Linked DNA regions of Homo sapiens: regions 1, 3, 4, 5, 6 and 7 are each linked to region 2. Evidence: promoter capture Hi-C in 16 types of primary human blood cells and fetal thymus (Javierre and others, 2016). All regions are on one chromosome and are shown on one strand. Each heading gives the region's core, a stretch centred on a gene start or on the middle of the fragment in contact. The rest is flanking DNA. Distances are from core to core; before and after follow the strand shown. Region 1 overlaps SLC44A3 (solute carrier family 44 member 3). Region 2 holds the start of ALG14-AS1 (ALG14 antisense RNA 1). Region 3 overlaps SLC44A3 (solute carrier family 44 member 3). Region 4 has its middle 17 kb from the start of RWDD3. Region 5 overlaps SLC44A3 (solute carrier family 44 member 3). Region 6 overlaps SLC44A3 (solute carrier family 44 member 3). Region 7 overlaps SLC44A3-AS1 (SLC44A3 antisense RNA 1).

Evidence for each region. The method cuts DNA at HindIII sites, captures the fragments that hold promoters and counts their contacts. A CHiCAGO score of 5 or more calls a contact.
Region 1: a contact is called between a fragment that was not itself captured here and the fragment with the promoter of ALG14-AS1 in region 2, in 13 of 17 cell types (total B cells, naive B cells, naive CD8 T cells and 10 more). The highest score is 11.9, in total B cells.
Region 3: a contact is called between a fragment that was not itself captured here and the fragment with the promoter of ALG14-AS1 in region 2, in 2 of 17 cell types (total CD4 T cells and naive CD4 T cells). The highest score is 6.0, in total CD4 T cells.
Region 4: a contact is called between a fragment that was not itself captured here and the fragment with the promoter of ALG14-AS1 in region 2, in 1 of 17 cell types (naive CD8 T cells). The highest score is 5.9, in naive CD8 T cells.
Region 5: a fragment that was not itself captured here is called in contact with the fragment with the promoter of ALG14-AS1 in region 2 in 14 of 17 cell types (total B cells, endothelial precursors, naive B cells and 11 more); the score reaches 10.1 in total B cells.
Region 6: a fragment that was not itself captured here is called in contact with the fragment with the promoter of ALG14-AS1 in region 2 in 17 of 17 cell types (naive CD4 T cells, total B cells, naive CD8 T cells and 14 more); the score reaches 13.5 in naive CD4 T cells.
Region 7: a fragment that was not itself captured here is called in contact with the fragment with the promoter of ALG14-AS1 in region 2 in 2 of 17 cell types (erythroblasts and endothelial precursors); the score reaches 7.4 in erythroblasts.

Annotation. Positions count from the first base shown.
Region 1 is chr1:94,866,577-94,869,276 of GRCh38, forward strand. SLC44A3 (solute carrier family 44 member 3) reads left to right here. Exons shown (of 15, transcript NM_001114106.3): 12 at 755-841. Among named protein-coding and RNA genes, the nearest start is that of SLC44A3, 48 kb to the left of the region's middle. RefSeq lists an enhancer at 1-283. The HindIII fragment of the contact is 7,895 bases long and covers 1-2,700 here.
Region 2 is chr1:95,060,123-95,062,909 of GRCh38, forward strand. It overlaps ALG14-AS1 (ALG14 antisense RNA 1), which reads left to right and starts at 1,474. Exons shown (of 2, transcript NR_132786.1): 1 at 1,474-2,067. All of the region lies in intron 2 of ALG14 (ALG14 UDP-N-acetylglucosaminyltransferase subunit), which reads right to left. The HindIII fragment of the contact is 7,319 bases long and covers 1-1,618 here.
Region 3 is chr1:94,883,749-94,886,448 of GRCh38, forward strand. All of the region lies in intron 12 of SLC44A3 (solute carrier family 44 member 3), which reads left to right. Among named protein-coding and RNA genes, the nearest start is that of CNN3-DT, 41 kb to the right of the region's middle. RefSeq lists an enhancer at 519-1,405. The HindIII fragment of the contact is 5,313 bases long and covers 1-2,700 here.
Region 4 is chr1:95,249,851-95,252,550 of GRCh38, forward strand. No RefSeq gene overlaps it. Among named protein-coding and RNA genes, the nearest start is that of RWDD3, 17 kb to the left of the region's middle. The HindIII fragment of the contact is 8,842 bases long and covers 1-2,700 here.
Region 5 is chr1:94,826,371-94,829,070 of GRCh38, forward strand. It overlaps SLC44A3 (solute carrier family 44 member 3), which reads left to right. Exons shown (of 15, transcript NM_001114106.3): 4 at 1,137-1,273; 5 at 2,123-2,216. Among named protein-coding and RNA genes, the nearest start is that of SLC44A3, 7.4 kb to the left of the region's middle. The HindIII fragment of the contact is 932 bases long and covers 922-1,853 here.
Region 6 is chr1:94,847,926-94,850,625 of GRCh38, forward strand. The region is part of intron 9 of SLC44A3 (solute carrier family 44 member 3); the gene reads left to right. Among named protein-coding and RNA genes, the nearest start is that of SLC44A3, 29 kb to the left of the region's middle. The HindIII fragment of the contact is 5,359 bases long and covers 1-2,700 here.
Region 7 is chr1:94,809,921-94,812,620 of GRCh38, forward strand. All of the region lies in intron 1 of SLC44A3-AS1 (SLC44A3 antisense RNA 1), which reads right to left. Among named protein-coding and RNA genes, the nearest start is that of SLC44A3-AS1, 9.0 kb to the right of the region's middle. The HindIII fragment of the contact is 1,911 bases long and covers 347-2,257 here.

The DNA.
Region 1 (2,700 bases), core at 51-2,550, 190 kb before region 2:
AGGCTGAAAAGTGTCCAGATCAAGTTTCATCCAATTGAATTCACATTGGGATGAGAAAATGTCCATATAAGGCTGAGTTATTCCTGGGGTCCTCATCCTAGGCTATTTCAGGATTGTTTTCAGGGATGTGTTCACTCTGGAGAGTGGGTAGGATGCCTCCGAGCACCCTTCCCCCAAGAGGTTCATTAAAGTATTCATTCTTAAGCTATGCACAAGTTCAAGTTATATTTCAAAGGAGTAATTTATCCCTCGAAATTTAGTCCTGAAAAAAATCTCACTACAGGATTTATTTCCTCCAGAGTTAAACTTGATTCTTTATTTATGTGGGCACATAACTAGTACCTACAGTGTATTATTTGTTTTTTTTGTTTCTGGGATGTGGATTTTTCGTGAATATAAACTTTGGTTTGAAAAAGCAAAGTGTACCATTTCAGACACTTAAGGGCAGATGAAGGGGGAAGAGAGGTTTTTTTTTTTACTGGAACCAGAAGGCCTGCTTTTGTTTTGCTGTTCAGTATGGACTAACCTCCCTAATAGCACCCCTAACACGTAAGTCCACAAGACAGAAATGTTGCTCCTCAGTAATACTAGAACCATAATTAGTAGTAGTAGTATGCACACAATAGAACTTCTCCCACGCCACCAGTGTTTCCCCAGGTGCATAAGTAAAAACTGTGTTTCCTCAGAAACTGCCTGCTTTTCTTCTTTCCTGTGTTGTTTTTGACTCTGTTCCTTTGTTCTCAACCTGATCCAGCAGCATGGTGCATTGTCCAGGTACCTGTTCCGATGCTGCTACTGCTGTTTCTGGTGTCTTGACAAATACCTGCTCCATCTCAACCAGGTACGTCTCTACCTCTTGCCTCAGGAACACACAGAAGGGTCCAAAGGTGGGCTTCATCTCTTAGGTCAAGGTTTGGCAAATTCTTCTCTAAGGGGCTAAATTGTGTAAACATTTTAGGCTTTCAGACCAGTCTCTCTGTCACAACCACTCAATTCTGCCATCATGGCAGGAAAGCAGCCATAGGTAAAATGTCAATGGGATGGATGTGGCTATGTTCTAATGAACCTTAACTTATCAACACTGAAATTTGAATTTCATATGATTTTTACATGTCAAGAAATTTTCTTTTTTTGATTTTGATTTTTTCTCAACCATTGTAAAATTGTAAAAATTGTTCTTAGCTCCTGCCAGAGAAAAGTGGGCGGTGTGATGGAGCTAGCTCCTGAGCTGTAGTTTGCATACCCTACCCTAGAACCATAGGCCTTTAAAGCCATGCTTCAAATTCTAAAAGAAAGTTTTTCTCTTTTCAGAAATAAAGAGGGAAGGGAGTATTTAGAAACCCTAAGCATAATGAATATATATCAACTAAGAGCTAATTTTCAGTGTCTTCTCTAAGAACTATAATTTTCCTGAACTAGGAAAAGAATTGCCTCCCTAATTTTCATAGATTTCACCAGTCTTTCCTTTTCAAGCTGTAAATATGCCTTTAAAATTATAAAAATTATATCTTGCAATTGTTTGGATTTCAGATTTTTTTCCTTTCCTGAATTTTTCAAATTGATGGAAATTTAAATATGTTGTATTTCTCTATAGAGCATTTAGGAGATTTTAATAGTCCTTAGTCAAATTTACACAAAGCAGTATTTTTGTAAGTTAGCAAACTGTTTTATAATTTAAATGTTCACAGAAATCTCACTTAGAAAAGTATTTCTTATAATTGCCCCCTCCCAAAGAAATGTACCTTTAGAAGTAAAGGGACTAATTAGACCACCTATGTTTAATGTCTTTTAAGGGGTATTTAGAATACTTTTCATTATTCAGGGAAAAATGTAGCCTTCTTATAGTAAGGTCTATTTTTAGGCTCTTAAACTTGGAGAACATTTTAGAGTATATTTAGTTTTCATTTGGATTGCTATAAGCCAGCATGTATAAAACACAATCAAATACCATAGGACCTTTCAGAATGGGGGGGAACATATAACAAGTCAGTCCAAACCGTTTGAATACATTTGTCGTGGTGTAAGATGTTATAGCTATTGTGTATATATCCAGACGGCAACTTCATAAATATTTTGAGATGCATTGCAAAAATGTATTAACTATGATAAAATATATATGCATGAAAAATAAAGTCTAAGAAACATATAGATAGACTAGAAAGACAAAAGCAATGAATGGGACCATTGATATACAAATATGTTGGCCATATGGCCCTACAAGGCCCGAGGGTTGACCTGTTATCCCCTCTCACTGTACTACGGGAATTCAGGTACTTTCCGCATCCCTCTTTCACTCATGGTTTTCATACTGGCCCCTGGAAGCCTAGAGGCTCCTGTGGACACTGTGGGGACCACCACATTAGGAGGGCAGAGAAATGGCTGAGGTGGAGGAAGGGTGGGCCCTGGCCCCATATACCATGCCTATACTGCCTGGCCTTGCGGCCTGAGCAGCTCCACTTTATGTGGTTTAGGGGTGGGAGTGTGGGAGTGTACTGAAGGTTTCATTTGAGGACAGGTCTCTGCTGCTGAAACACATTTGAAAACCTCTGGTCCCATTTTCACATTTGTTTCCTCTGCCCTGTTATCCTGAGATACGTATTTTCCTGCCTTCTGAACTTTCACCACCTTAATTAATCCAGGACCATTTCCCTTGGTAATTCAAAATGTTTCCAAACTCATAAGTGACATTAATGTTAACCA
Region 2 (2,787 bases), core at 224-2,723:
CACACAAACACACACACACACACACACACACACACACACACACACACACACACACGTGGTGGTACCCAGTGGTGGCCAGCAGAAATGTTCACGCTATCTCCCTCAACAGCTCATTTGCATCTCTGCAGAGCTCTTCCCAGCTTCAGATTCATGAGTAGAGGCTCTTTTAGGAATGGAGCAGAATTTTCTCTCTAACAGTGGCTGCATTGCCCCAGTAGGCGACTGTTAGTAAAAGGAAGTTGAACAGAGATGCTTAGTCCTACATTGCACTTCGAAAATACAAAATAATGGCACTATAAAAATCCAAAATCTGGCTGGGCACAGTGGCTCACGCCTGTAATCCCAGCACTTTGGAAGGCTGAGGTGGGCAGATCACGAGGTCAGGAGATCGAGACCATCCTGGCCAACATGGTGAAACCCTGTCTCTATTAAAAAAAAAAAAAAATAGCCAGACATGATAGTAGGCACCTGTACTCCCAGCTACTCAGGAGGCTGAGGCAGGAGAATCGCTTGAACCTGGGAGGTGGAGACTACAGTGAGCTGAGATCACACGACTGCACTCCAGCCTGGGTGACAAAGTGAGACTCTGTTTAAAAAAAAAACAACAAATAAATAAAAATAAAAATCCAAAATATTTTTATAGTTAAGACTATTAATGTGAAGCAAACCCAACTTACTTGGTTCTAAGTGTTGTGATGCACAGTATATAACTACTGTCCCCCTAAAATTCATGTCCACCTGGAATCTATGAATGTGACCTTATTTAGAAATAAGAGCACTGCAGATATGATCAAGTTAAGATGAGGTCCTTCTGAATTAGAGTGGGCCCTAAATCCAACCGGTATCCTCATAAAAAAGGCATGTGAAGACAGAGATACAGAAAAGGTCATATGATGGTGGAAGCCGAGATTAGAGTGACGTAGCTGCAAGCTAAGGAAGGCCAAGCATTGCTGGCCACCACTAGAAGCCAGGAGGAAGCAAGGAGGGATTCTTCTTCAGAACCTCCGGAGGGAGTATGGCCCCATGACACCTTGATTTCAGACTTCTACCCTTCAGAGCTATGAGAAAATACATTTCTGTTATTTTAAGCCACCCAGTTTATGGGTGGCAAAAACCCAGTTTTGTTACAGCAACCCTAAGAAACTAATACAGTATTGATTCCTAAAACAAAAACGAAATCACTTTGGCTTATTTTCCACAGAGGAAAAAAAGTACCACACATTTTGCTATAGCTGAATGATAGCAAGCAGATTTATATACCAATCTTGTTTGACGTGGATTTTTTGAGAATACATTTTAGTAGTATGTTAGTTGGGGATAAGGTTTACAAATGACCAAAAGTTAACACAAACAGCCTTGAGAGAGAGAGAGAGAGAGAGTGTGCGTATGTCACAAAGGTGGGAACAAAGGGAGTGGGGTAGGGTTCTAGGAGTGGGTCCTGATTTCCCAAGAAAAGAACCACCAATCCAGGACCAACACAGCTATAGCAGGGCCTCTTGAGCCACTGAAGGCAGCACCAGACACTGGCTTCTCCTCTCTTCCTGTACATTATCTTCATTCTTCTATCTATAGACTACCTTTATCTTCTAAGTGAAAACATGACTGTCAGCAGCTTTCAAGCTTTATCATTTACAGAGCTTGCCTGAAGACAGACTGATTCCATTCTCTAGGTCTCCAAGCCCAGAAAGCTCAGAGAAAGACTTCGATTGGTCTGAGTTAGGCCAGCTGTCCACCCCTGAACTATCCAGAGCAGCCCTGCAGCTGGGCCGTTCCCAGAGAGAGGGATGGATAAAGGCACTCACTCTACATAAGGAACAGCTCTAGTTTCCTTCCTTAATTAAGAAGTAGTTTCACTTAAAAAAAAAAATCTCTAAACACTGACTAAAATGCTATAATGAAGTGAGCAACCAGGGGTAAAGAAGTACTAATAATTTCAAAGGCAGACACAAGTATGATTTGGAGAAGAAACAGCAGTCATAGATAAATCAAATTATCAATAAACGTAACACATTGATAGAGAGCTTTAATGAAGAGCCAATAAGCACATGAACAGGATGCTTCGTGTATGTAAGTAAAAATAAAATAATTTTCACTATTGGAATTCAACGAAAAACTGCTTTCTCTATTTAAAAGAATAAAAAATATGCAAAAAATTAAGCAACCATTTTTTTTCCTTCAACTTTTAAGTTCCAGGGTATGTGTGCAGGATGTGCAGGTTTATTACACAGGTAAACGTGTGCCATGGTGGTTTGCTGCACAAATTAATCCATTACCTAGGTATTAAGTCCAGCATCCACTAACTATTCTTCCTGATGCTCTACCTCCCCCAACCCCTCCCTTCAACAGGCCCCAATGTGTGTTGTTCCCCCATATGTACCCATGTATTCTCATTGTTCAGCTCCTACTTATAAGTGAAAACGTGTAGTATTTAGTTTTCTGTTCCTGCATTAGTTTGCTGAGGATAACGGCTTCTGGCTCCATCCATATCCCTGCAAAGGACATGATCTTGTTCCTTTTTATTGCTGCATAGTATTTCATAGTGTATATGTACCACATTTTCTTTATCCATTCTATCATTGATGGGCATTTGGGTTGATTCCATGTCTTTGCTATTGTGAATAGTGCTGCAGTGAACATATGTGTGCATGTATCTTTACAACAGAATGATTTACATTCCTTTGGGTATATACCCAGCAATGGGATTGCTAGGTCAAGTGGTATTTCTGCCTCTAGATTTCTGAGGAATCGCCACACTATCTTCCACAATGGTTGAACTAATTTACATTC
Region 3 (2,700 bases), core at 57-2,556, 180 kb before region 2:
GTGTGTGAAGGTGCAATTTGTCTGAAATTTGGGTATCCCTTCAGTGTCAGTTTAGTTTCATTTTCGTTTGTTGAAGTCAAATGAGCATTTGTCCTTTTATTTAAAATACCATGGAGAGTATGAGTTCATTATCGTAGCGCATGCTCAGTGTATCCAGCCTGCCTTTCTTCCTCTGTGTATATTCACAGAGGGGTGCTGGGGTGAAGGCCAAGCAATGTTAGCAGTGGTTATTTCTAAGGGGTGGGATCACAGTGGCCTTCTTGCTTCTTTGTCTCTGTGTTGTTTGATTTTTTTAAGATTAACATGGAAATAATAAAGCCATTCTAAAAATTAAGCAAAAAGAAAAGTTTTAAAAGAGCAAACAAAATAGCACGACCCTGTTCGTGGCTTCATAGGCAGCTCTCATGTTTGTCCTTCCTTCTTCCACCCCACCTCCCACCTGGCTGCAGCCCCAGGGGACTGGCTGCTTTCCCTCCTCACCATCTCATTGGATGTTTGTTTGCATCCTGGTGACCGGTGCATTCCTGAAGGGATCTGAACGGTGAATGCAGGGCCCTGGAAGGCCCAGAGGCTGTGCACTGCCTCACTCCACATGTGTTTGTGATAAAAACAGGGCTCAAGATGAAACTGGTCTGGGACGGTTCCTGCCAGTTTTACTGTAGGTCCAAGGAAGGCCCCTGGATGTATGGGGATGTATCTGGACTCGGATTTCACTGTATTTTTTTTCAGTTCTGAGGAAAGTATGAATGCCAGTGTTATTTATTCACTGTTCAGTTTCTCAAGTTTGTTTTAGTAGTTCTTGCTTTGAGAATAAATATCGGAACTCTGTGAGGAAGGCATTCCAGAAATAAAGCTGGCTATTCATGGCATGGTTTTTGGCAAATACCTTCCCTCCACTACGGAGGGAAACTCTGTTTACCTTTTTGAAGAGTCGGCAGAAACCCAGGTTCACAGTTCTGCCACCAAAAGAAGAAAGCAGTTCAGTTCAGTGAGAGGACAGACTCAGCATGATGGACAAAAGGCTGAGCTGTGCTGGCTAAGCGTTTGATTTCAGGAGTAAAAAAACGCTCTTTCTATGTTAAAGCTGCAATTAACGTTCTTGGATAGCTCTCACAGTAACTTAAATAGGTAATCTAGATTTTCTCTTACCTAAAAGGACACTTAAATCTCATTTTCTTCAATAATTACAATTTTCTATAAAATGAGAATAATACCGGCCAGGCGCAGTGGCTCACGCCTATAATCCCAACACTTTGGGAGCCCGAGGCAGGCAGATCACATGAGGTCAGGAGTTTGAGACCAGCCTGGCCAACATGGTGAAACCCTGTCTCTACTAAAAATACAAAAATTAGCCAGGCGTGGTGGGTGCCTGTTGTCCCAATTACTCAGGAGGCTGAGGCAGCAGAATCAATTGACCACAGGAATACAATCGCGCCATTGCACTTTAGCCTGGGCGACAGAGTGAGACTCCCTCTCAAAAAAAAAAAAAAAAAAAGAGGCAGCAGGGAATAATACCACCCATGGTGATTATTTCACTGAGTTGTGGTGAAAACAGATGAGATCTAATGAGACGATGATCCGAGGGTGACTGGCCACGAAGCACAAACATAAAGCATCATGGAACATTGGAGTTGGTGGAAGTCTTTTCCAAGCAGCAAAGTGAGGGCCCTTGAGAAGTGACGTGATTTGGTGGAAGCCGTTCCGCAAGTCTTTGGAGGCAACATGACTGGAATCCAGCCTCTTTCCACTAAGCCATCCTGCCACATCCTCAGCTGTTTTCAATGGTGCATCTCATGAGAACACCACTTTGTTATTTTGAACTTTCCAGGAGAAAAAGCACAAAGTACAGCTCAAAGTAAAGTTTTCCAGCAGATGGGCCTGAACGAGTTAGAGGTCCACTTCATGGAAGATGGACGCAACATCTATGACACGCGTGGAACCGGGGGCACACTACTTTACCTCTCTGTGCTTTAGTTTCCTTAACTACCTCATCGGGTTGGAGTTAAGAGGACTAAATGAGTGAATGTGTTCGGGGAGAGGTAGCATAGAGCCTGGCACATAGTACATGCAAGATTAATGCCATTATTATTTATTATTAGCGTTATTATTTATTTACACACAGAAGTTGCACACCTGCCTACTGACTGGAAAAGAAAAAGGCCACAGATGGAAATTAGAAAGTTGTAGCTATCATTAGGTCTGTGCCAAGGCATTTGGGATATATCACTAAGGCATCCACCGAGGTGGGGGTGGAGGGGAGCCAGAGTGCCTGGAGGAGTTACTATTCCTAATACTCCTATTTTCTCCCAAGAAGAACTCACGGTCTTTGGGCCTAGCCCCTGGCTTATGACTGCTGGCGGGTCGGTGTGCTCAATGGCTGCATGGCCACCACAGCATTTCCACCCAACTCCAGCAGAGCCCCGTAGGCATTGTGGAGGTGCTTGGGGAGTCTCCTAGGCTTGAATAGGAATGAGCCTTGGAAGGTGCAGAGCTTCGTGGCTCAGCAGAAGATGGTGATGAGGGAGATCTGACCTGAACTTCCCCAGGGCAGCCTGGGAGAGCTTCCAGAGGCACAGGCTGAAAATCGTGAGTCCTCCTGAAACTTCCTTTCACTGCTCTTGCTCCACACTCTGCATCAGCCCCACCCACCGAGGGCTGACCCCCGACTCTTCCAGACCTGTTTCCCATTTCTCCTCTGCT
Region 4 (2,700 bases), core at 154-2,653, 190 kb after region 2:
GCTATTGCACTATTGGAGACGTTGTAATAGCCTATATCTGCTATTGCACTATTGGAGACGTTGTAATAGCCTATATCTGCTATTGCACTATTGGAGACGTTGTAATAGCCTATATCTGCTATTGCACTATTGGAGTCTGCTCAAATGCTGCCTAGACCAGAGCTAAAATTGCTAATAGGCACTGTCTCTGGTCCATTTGAATCTGGAATCACTCCACCCCTGTTGCTGCTATACCAACTGCCAACAAGGATCACAGTGCTATCTGTGCTACCTTCTGATCTCCCAGAAGTGCCTTCTATTGACAAGCCTAACAGGAACCAAGCTGGCAAGGAAGTCTGGGGAAAGTAGATTGCAGAATTTCAGCCTCAGGAGAACAGAGCTGACTATAGAAGGATGACTGTGTGTGAAATGGGGAGAGGGCTGAGTGCCCACAGAAAATAACCAACCAGGACACTTATTTTCAGCTATTAAGCATCCACACACACATCCTTCTACCCATATTTAAACTTCTATGCAGCAATAACAGTTTTATGCTTCTGTCTTTGTAGATTTAACTCTGTTCTTTATGAAACTCACCATTCCCTCAGAAAGGGGAGAAACAGCCCCACCAGTTACTACTGTTCTTATTGGTGTTAATTCTTCTAGTTTAGTCACAATCCCACCTAGATATTCTGTAGCTTGAAGATTAAACTGTAAAGTTCCCTATCATTAGTATTAGTGGCATTCCTTGTACTCCTACGGCTTGAGAGGGGGAAGGAAAAAAATAGTTACTATATACAAAGATATTTAGAACAAGCAATGAAGCACATTTACATAACTACTTTGGTACTTGTTTCTGACTGGTCATGAAGCTGTAGTTGATATTTGTAACTTCTTCCTCTACTTAATTTTTCATTGCTCCTGGCCAGCACTTCAGCTGGCAAGTGTTCTTTACCTAGTAGGGTAGCTGAATCTTCATTCTGGATGGGTCTGAGTCTTTAGTAGTTGGGGTGCTTATTAATTTTCACTATTAAATAAGTCTTAAGAGGCAATCCAGAGATTCCCCTGGGGTCCTTGACCTCATTGTGTAGCAGCAACCCAATATCCGTAATAATAATCTAGTTCAGTCACCCCAGCCAATACAGGGATCTCTTTCTTTGTTTTTTAGTTTAGTGTGATAAGAAACCTAATATATCTAGGCATCAGTCTCAATTTTCAATTCATTTGAACCATTTTATGTGCCTTGGTAGAAGAATTCTTTCCTTGTGAACTAAGACCTGTAAACTAGCATAGTCCAAGTTTACAGGGATGAGAATTAGAAATTCTGTGAGAGGGTTATTAAGTATACTACTGAGAGGAATCAGTCCTATTTTTATCCCTTGATTCCTGGACCCATGTATTCTGGCAATGGGAGAAATACAACTATGCTGATCACTGGTTCAAACTATATGCTACATTTTGTATAATAGCACTGAAGTCTCTCAGGGGCTTGTCTCCCACCAGGACTAATAACTGAGTTTTTTTTTTTTTTTTTAGACAGTCTCGCTTGCCACCCAGGCTGGAGTGCAGTGGTGCGATCTCAGCTCACTGCAACCTCCGCTTCCTGGGTTCAAGTGATTCTCATGCCTCAGCCTCCTGAGTAGCTGGGATTACAGATGCATGTCACCATACCCAGCTATTTTTTTGTATTTTTAGTAGAGATGGGGTTTCACTATGTTGTTCAGGCTGGTCTTGAACTCCTGACCTCAAGTGATCTGCCTGCCTCAGCCTCCCAAAGTGCTGTGATTATAGACGTGAGCCACCACACCCAGCATAACTGTCTTAACAGGTCATTATATTATTCTACCAAGCCAGCCACTTCTGGATGATTAGGTACATGGAAAGTCCTATGAATTTCATCCATTGCTACATTTATTTTGTTGTGAAATGAGTTTCTGATTCAGAAGTTATATTGTGAGGGATATCATGTCTATAGGATCATAGTTGGTTGTATTATAGGAAGGGACTTCAGATTCATATCCAGAAGTATCAGTTTAGTAAGGACAATTTGCTGGCCCTTCCATTAGGGAAGGGGTCCAATGTAATTAATCAGCCACCAGGTAGCTGGTGTTTTTTTAGGAGGGGAGGCCTTTTTCGTGGCTTACTATGGGTCTTTGTTTTTAGCAGGTTAGGTACTCAGCAGGTTAGCAAGATCACCCTTGGTGAGGGGAATTTCATGTTGTTGAATCCATGAATAACCTCCGTCCCTGCTGCCGTATTTACTTTGTACCTGAGCCCACTAAGCAAGCACTGGGGTGCTAGGGAAAGAGGCTGACTAACATCCACTGGAGGATTCAACTCATCTATTTGATTAATGGAGGCCTTCTCTGCGGTGGTTGCCCTTTGAAAAACATCACATGGGACACAAATATCCTCACATTTTGTGCTCAGCCTGAGAACTCCATTCCTATACCTCTGTCCCAGATCTCCTTTTCATTAGTCCTTTTATTTTGTTCTTCAAAGTCTGTGACCTCCTGGTCAACCTGTTAGCTGCTGCTCATGAAATACTGTAAATCTATACCTCAGGGCATCTCTTTACCTAGAGAAGGTACACAATCAGAATTACTGCTCAAAGTTCTACCCACTGCGTAAATTTCTCTTGATTTCTATCTTTCAGAGACACTCCACATTTGAGTCAAAATTGCTAAAGTGAAGAATATTGTGAAGAACCACCCATAAATC
Region 5 (2,700 bases), core at 138-2,637, 230 kb before region 2:
GGCTGGTGCAGTGGCTCATGCCTGTAATCCCAACAGTTTGGAAGGCCAAGGCGGGCAGATCCACAGGGTCAGGAGTTCAAGACCAGCCTGGCCAACATGGTGAAACCCTGTCTCTACTAGAAATACAAAAATTAGCCAGGTGTGGTGGCAGGCACCAGTAGTCCCAGCTACTCAGGAGGCTGATGCAGGAGAATCACTTGAACCTGGGAGGCAGAGGTGGCAGTGTCATTGCACTCCAGCCTGGGTGACAGAGCGAGACTCTGTCTCAAAAAAAAAAAAAAAGAAAGATTCAGATGGTAAATTTTATGTATATTTTAACACAATTTTTAAACTTCTTCAAAAATATGTATATCACACACCCAGGAAATCTGTTCCTCATCTCCTGTTGCACCACCTTTCTCCCATCCCCAACAGGAGGGAAAAAAACCTTCTGGGACCCCTTCTCAAGGTCTCTCCCATAAAGGGCAGCCTACGGGGTCTTCCTCTGCCATTCCTGGGGTCTTGGAGCCTGGATAAGTGGTAGGCAAGGGTTTGGAAGCTGTAGCTGCTAGCGCATAACCTGCTGATGGCAACACCAGTTTCATTCTTGTCCCCCCTCTGCCCTGCCCCTGGGGAGCTGCAGGAGGGTTCTCCTGAGTGTCCTGGCTCTCAACCTGGGAGAAGGGGGAAAAGACAAGCCTTTGGTTCCCAGCCTTGGCCCCCTCCTTTCCACTTCTCACTTCCCTGTGTTCAGTTATTCTCTGAAGCATATTTGAACACTCTTGGGTACAAATGTGTTCTCCGTGGAGTCCATTGAATAGTTTGTGCATTGGCCTGATCTAGCAATCAATGGACAGTTTAACCAATTGCTTCTTTTCCTCAGATTTTCTCAGGTAACTCCCTAGTGCTATCCCCTAGACAACACTAAATCTGGAGAAATAAAGCTTTGTTAATGTTTTTGGATAGTTTCCAAGCTGCACAGCTTCATGGATGACCACCAGTAGGCATCATAAATGTTCAATTATGCTGAAACAATTATGAAAGTGTGCCTGGGTGATCCCTGCATTTGATAGCATGTGGATATTTTTTAAGGCCCACAATTAAGACCAGTGAGAAGCAATGCTCTAACACATTCTTCTGTTTCATCTATTTCCTAGACACGTGTTCTTTATGAATTCCTGCAACCTGGAAGTCAAAGGTACGCAGCTCAACCGCATGGCCCTCTGTGTATCCAACTGCCCTGAAGAGCAGCTTGACTCCCTGGAAGAGGTCCAGTTCTTTGCAAACACCAGTGGTAGGCACTAAGGCCTGGTTTGTTCTTTTCCCCATGATGGGGTAAGCTGTGGGGACCTAGATGAGATCATTTACCCTGACTCTGCTTTCTCTGGAAAGCTGGAAGTTTTACTTCCTTGTGGGTGCCTCTTTTTGTGTGGAAAAGGCCGTAAGCATTTTCTCTTGAGCTTGTTCAGGTTATTTTTTTTCTATCTGGATTTATCTGAAGCCCTAGCTATTCCGTGTATGCTCCCTGCCACTGCAGGGAATGGTCATCCACAGAGAGAGAGAGGAGACAGCCCACATTTAAGACCCAAAGGCGGTGTCAGAAGGAAGGCAGAGAGCTCCATGCACGTGGGCACATCCGGTCCTAGAGATGTACGTGCAGGCTGCGCGTAGAATTGCTGACAAATTGGTCTTTTCATGAGATTTTTGGGGCCAATAGATACTTCCACTGAGCAGTGGGATGTCACAAGTTGTACCAGAAGCACTTGTATAACTAAAATACCTTGTACTGGGTCCACTGTTTAGAATTTTATCTGTCTGAGAAATGGTTTGCCAGATTTTTAAAAATTATTTGCAAAGCCAGGTTTAAACTATCAAGCTTCTACAAGAAATTGTTTTCAAATATGCTTCAGATTATTTTAGGACCAATCATATAACTTTTAGTTTTGAATTTGGGGTTTTGAAGAGAAAGTAAGGAAGAGAGGCCCTCACTAGACCTCAGATTGTATGCCTATTACTTTTGTGTTTCTGTCACCCATAGACCTTGTAGTTGATTCTTTCTCCTTTCTGGTTTGGTAACATGGCTGTGGTTTCCTTACTGACTCACCTGGAAAGAAGGTATAATGTCTGTGTGTTCTGCTTCCAGGGTCCTTCCTGTGTGTTTATAGTTTGAATTCCTTCAACTATACCCACAGTCCAAAAGCAGACTCACTGTGTCCCAGGCTACCAGTTCCTCCAAGGTAAAAGCTTCCATACTTTTTCCTTAACTCTAAACAAAAGTTACTGGGTACTTGGTGTGCATCTGTTACTCTTCTAGGCATTGTGGGAAGGAGATATCAGAAGAGCCCCTGCCTGCAGGGAGCTTACAGTCTACGGAGGCCAGCGATAAAAACATGGAGGGACTATTTGCAGTATGCCTATGGACAGTGGATTAGAAATCAGGCTAAATAAGGAGAAAACTCAGCAAGCAATAAAAATACACGTAGTCTTCAAAGAACACTAGAGCTAGCAAGAAGTAACTTATGAATTATTACTAACGGGGTGATTTTATAAATTAGTGTGTATTTTTTTCTACTCCAATTATTTATTGCAAAGTAGAAATCATTTACTTTGGCCGGGCATGGTGGCTCACACCTGCAATCCCAGCATTTTGGGAGACTGAGCCAGGCGGATCACGAGGTCAGGAGATGGAGACCATCCTGGCCAACGTGGTGAATCCCCATC
Region 6 (2,700 bases), core at 92-2,591, 210 kb before region 2:
AAATAAAAATAGGCCTCTTTAGGCCGGGTGCAGTGGCTCACGCCTGTAATCCCAGCACTTTGGGAGGCCAAGGCGGGCGGATCATGAGGTCATGAGATCGAGACCATCCTGGCTAACACGGTGAAACCCCGTCTCTACTAAAAATACAGAAAACTTAGCCGGGCGTGGTGGCGGGCGCCTATAGTCCCAGCTACTCGGGAGGCTGAGGCAGGAGAATAGCATGAACCCGGGAGGCGGAGGGTGCAGTGAGCTGAGACCACACCACTGCACTCCAGCATGGGCCACAGAGTGAGACTCTGTCTCAAAAAAAAAAAAAAATAGGCCTCTTCAAGTTTGCTCAGAATGAAGCTGTATCAGGGACCACAGCAGTTGGCTGGTGGATGTGGGCTGTGCCCATAATGTGTCTGGGGCTGGAGGTTGACAGCTAGAGCCAGCTGGGGATGAGGTGTGATGGAGGTGGTGGCAGTGGCCCTGGGCAGCAGCACTGTAGGGCTTGAACCCTAGCCTCTAGAGAATCATCAGAGAAACAGTGAGGTCTTAGGAAATATGGCTCAGGACCAGTGAAGGACCCTCCTCTTCCCACCTCCTTAGGTGCAGCTGGCCCAGCCAGGGGGCCCCTTGTTGGCTGTGAATCTGGATAAGGGGAACTGTGTCTGTGGCTAGACCCCATGATGTTTTGGAGCAGGGATGGTTTTAATTTAATTCAGAAGTATTTGGTGGGCACTGTGGGGATGAGGCGCTGAGCACGGCACTAGGGAGAGGTAGGGAACAGGATTGAGGTCGACTCTCTGCCCTCAGTACTTATAGTCAAGCAGGATGGTCCAACAATGAAACGTGTGATCGCAGTGAAGATTGATGGATGTGATGATCAGAGAAATCTGGGGAGCTATGGGAACACCAGAACAAGGCCGTAACCCATGCTGTGAGTCAGGGAGGGCTTCTTAGAGGGCAGGCTGGAAATCGCCAGGTCAGAAAATACAGAAAGAGGCAAAGGGGGATGCAGCAGAAGTCAAGGCAGCACAAGGAGAGGACCTGGCCACAGAGGTCAAGGGAAGAGCCCAGGCCAGTGAAGTCAGAAAGGAGCAAGCCCCAAGGCTGACTTGGGCATGAACTGCCAGCCTGTGCCCCTTAACTGCCAGCCTGTGCCCCTGACTAGGTCTAGGTTGGGCCCAGGGCTTAGTAGCCTCCACTGCAAGAGAGACCTGGAGGTTATTCTTCAGGGCTGAAGGTAGCGTGTCATTCTGCAGCCACCTCTCAGGATCACACAGTGAAGTGTGACGATTCACTGTTAGTGCAAGCAGCAAACAGCGAGAACAGTAGAGGGGCCAGAAAGGAAACTGGGTGCCCCGGACCTATGGGAGGCATCTATGAGCAGGTCGATTTTAGGCTTCTCAGGAGAGAAGGTGCTACGCAGAGCCACCACCCCCCTTCCCCACCCCGCTGGGGTCAGGCATCATAGAAACCAAATCACCCGTCCCCTCCTTCCACCTGCCTGTGGCCGACCCAGGTGCACAGGGTCCCCTTTGTTCTCAGAGGCCTTTTCACCAGTGCCAGAGAGCCTGGCTCTGCGGCTGGGCAGATCAGCAGCTGAATCACTTTTTGATCTTCAGAAGATGCCCCAGCTAACACTTGAGAGGGACTCTGAGCCGCTTTCACCTCTTATGAAGAGGCGCCAGGTGATCGGGTGGCGAGCCCGCTGCACAGTGCCCGATTGTCTCATTCCACGTCCCACAGGCAGCTTCAGCGGGGACAGACACACTCTTCAGTTAGCGCCCAGTTTTGTGTGTGGGCGTCCTCAGTACATAAATAGTTGTTTGTTTGTTTTTGTGTTTTGTTTTTTGTTGGTTTTTGTTTGTTTGTTTTTCTTGAGACAGGGCCTCAATCTGTTGCTCAGACTCAAGTGTAGCATCAACCTCCCGGGCTCAAGCGATCCTCCCATCTCAGCCTCCCCAGTAGCTGGGGCTGCACATGCCACTATGCCTAGCTAATTTTTGTATTTTTTTGTAGAGACAGGATTTTGCCGTGTTGCCCAGGTTGGTCTAGAAATCCTGGGCTCAAGCAATCCACCTGCTTTGGCCTCCCAAGGTTTTGGGATTATAGGCGTGAGCCACCCAAATAGTTGTGTCAGATGGTTGAATGAATACTATTTTTTACTGCATTAAAAAAAATAGGAGTGAACTTGGGTTGATCATTTTTGCCCAGATGGGCTATTTTTCTAATGACTGTTAATCATTCTTTTGACTAGTTGACAAATTCTGACTTGTTTGGGGATTTTTTTTCAGCAGGTCATATCAAGCCCCCATCTTGCACCACCCAACAATGACATTTAGTAGTCCATTGGGATTTGTCTGGTACCAGCAATAAGACAGTAATTACTAAAATCCAATAGGAAAAAGTGAAAACTGTGGTAACCTTGGTAATCTGGTAGGTTGGAAAGAGCTCAGATGACCTGGTCACCTCCAGTGTTCATTAAGGTGGTCTGGAAGCTCCAGAGTCTGTACAATAGAAGAGAACCATATTGGATTTTGGCAGGGAGTGGACTTCCCGCGAGGTCTGTGCTGCAGTTAGAAGATTTAATCACAGGACTGCACACAGCATACACCGTGTACTTGGGATACACAAAGGGGTGAGCTTGGAAAGGAGGCAGCAGGGTCAGACAGAGAGTTTTCCATAGGTTTCCCATCAAATGACCTGGAACCC
Region 7 (2,700 bases), core at 52-2,551, 250 kb before region 2:
TGGCTCATGCCTGTAATCCCAGCACTTTGGGAGGCCGAGGCGGGCAGATCACCTGAGGTCAGGAGTTTGAAACCAGTCTAGCCTACACAGCAAAACCCCGTCTCTACTAAGAATACAAAAATTAGCCGGGCGTGGTGGTGCGTGCCTGTAATCCCAGCTACTCAGGAGGCTGAAGCACAAGAATCACTTGAACCCAGGAGGCAGAGGTTGCAGTGAGCCAAGATCACACCACTGCATTCCAGCCTGAGTGACAGAGTGAGACTCCGTCTCAAAAAAAAAAAAAAAAAGGTATGTTTAAGTAAGGGGGTAAACAAAACTGAGAACAGTGGTTACCTCTGAGATTGAAAGCTTAGCAGGAGTTGTGTCCAAGGAGAAGCATTATGGGAATATTCTAGTTATTTAATTGGGTAGTGAGTTTAGGTGTGTTCATGTCATTATGCCTTATAACTTAGTATATACCCCATGTGTACTACAGTTTTTATTATGCAATGTTTGATATATGCAAAAGAATATATTAACATAAATAATGTAATGTGACATATATAATCTTTTGTAACTAAAAAATATTTTTTAACCAAACTGAAAGTCCCTCAGGGCTAAAGGAGAGACTGTGTTCCAAGGAACACATTTAAGAAGGGAGCCTGGTGGCTATACTGTTCCCTTGCCTCACCTCCCCATAAGAATTTTCCTGCTGGGGCTGGGCATGGTGGCTCACACCTGTAATCCCAGCACTTTGGGAGGCCAAGGCAGGTGGATTATCTGAGGTCAGGAGTTCGAGACCAGCCTGGCCAACATGACAAAACCCCATCTCTACTAAAAATACAAAAATTAGCCAGATGTGGTGGAGCATGCCTGTAATCCCAGCTACTTGGGAGGCTGAGGCAGGAGAAATAGTTGAACCTGGGAGGCGGAAGTTGCAGTAAGCTGAGATCGTGCCATTGCACTCCAGCCTGGGCAACGGAACGAAACTTCATCTCAAAAAAAAAAAAAAAAAGTATTTTCCTGCTGGAATCTTGCTGCCCCCACCAAGCCTACCCTTGCTCCCTGCTCTTCAGAGGTACAAGGGGAACACAAGCCCCTCTCCTTCCAGTCCTTTGAGCACAACCAAGACAGGGTAGCATTTTCTAAAAGCTGTTCTACAAAGTGGGAGCAAATGAGAAAGATACAATCACAGAAAGGCAAACGGCTTCTTGGTGTGGCATGCTGGGCCCTAACGGCTGAGTTAGTTCTGCCCTCAGAAGTATACCTTCTCTCCCTCCCTCCTTCTCCCCCTTATTTTCATCCTCCAGTGATACTACATGGCTGGGGGTCCCCTGCTGCTCCATGCCCCTAGCCCTTTAGCCATGCTCTCTCTTCTGCCTGGGAAGCCCTCCCCACCTTTCTCTATCTTGCCATTTCTTGTTCATCTTGCACCATTCAACTCAGGCCCCCTCTCCCAGGAAGGCTTCTTGGAACCCTGGGACTGGGCAAAGAACCCGCATCAGCCTGCCTCATCATTAACCCTCAACTGAGCTTGACCTCGCTGGAGTGGGCAAATATTCCTTCTTGGTGTTCGTGCCCCTTGAGTTGGCCCAAGTCCTGGCACAAAGCAAGTGCTGAGTCAATCCCTGTTGAATAAAGATAGGCTAAAATTAATCAAGGTTCCCCCAGAGACCAGATTTCTAATCCAAAGATTTCAAGGAGAAAAGAAGGTCTTCTGAGGCTGAAACTTCCTCATCCTGAAATGACCAGGATCCAGATTTAAAGAGCTGGGAGTCCTTTGCACACACACCTTGCTTGGTTTCCTTCCCCCCACCTCCCTCCCTGTCTCAGCCAAGTGCTCCCCAGTGCCTCCTTATCTATCCAGTATATCTTGGGCCATTTCTGGACCAAGTACAAAGACCCAAGACCTCTTGCATCCTTCATCTCATCTCTGGCTTCCAGTCTGAGGTACAAGCCCCCATGGCTGACAGGAAAGGCAAGATGGGGAAGGATCTGGTCCTTCTGAGTCAGTGATCCTGCCCGCACTGGAGCCTCTGATAACTGACTCTTGTAAGGTGAGCCCCTTCTTAGTCTGGGACGAGAAATTGCTCCATCAGAGTCTAACATCATGGTATTTTATCCAGAGGGCATCAGGCCCAAAGCATGGTGGGAACTCAGCCACAGGAGCTGATGAGGAGGGTAAGGAAGCCTGGGAAAAGTGGGATGAAGGGTGGGAAGTTCTGGCCTTTCTTAGTGCTGGCCCCAAAGTACAGTGTCAATAAGATTCACAGGCTGAAGCTTAGGTCAAGCTTCAGTCTGCATCTGGGAGACCTGCCCCAAAGAGGTAATAGTCAGACACTTGAAAGCAAAGCAGGCAACCTGAGTGGCCCTAACTGCATCTTTGTGTGACCAGATTGGGACAGAAGCAAGATCTCAACATCTTCAGAGAGCACCTAGAAGTTTTAGAAAAAGGTGCCAAAGGCCTTTGGAAGAGATGCAGATTAGAATATAAGACAAACATGAAAATCATGAGAAAGTTAGGAACAGATGGGCAGGAGGGGAATGTGAGGTATAGGATGAAGAAACACACAGAGAAGAGGAAAAACTGTTAAGGCCAAAGTGCTACAGAAGCTCCAGGGGCCTGCATGGGGTTGGAGTGAAGAGATTGAGGGTGGGAAACTGTGAGAGCTTGGCACCTTAGCTGAGCCAATAGATCTGGAGATACAATGATCCTAAGGC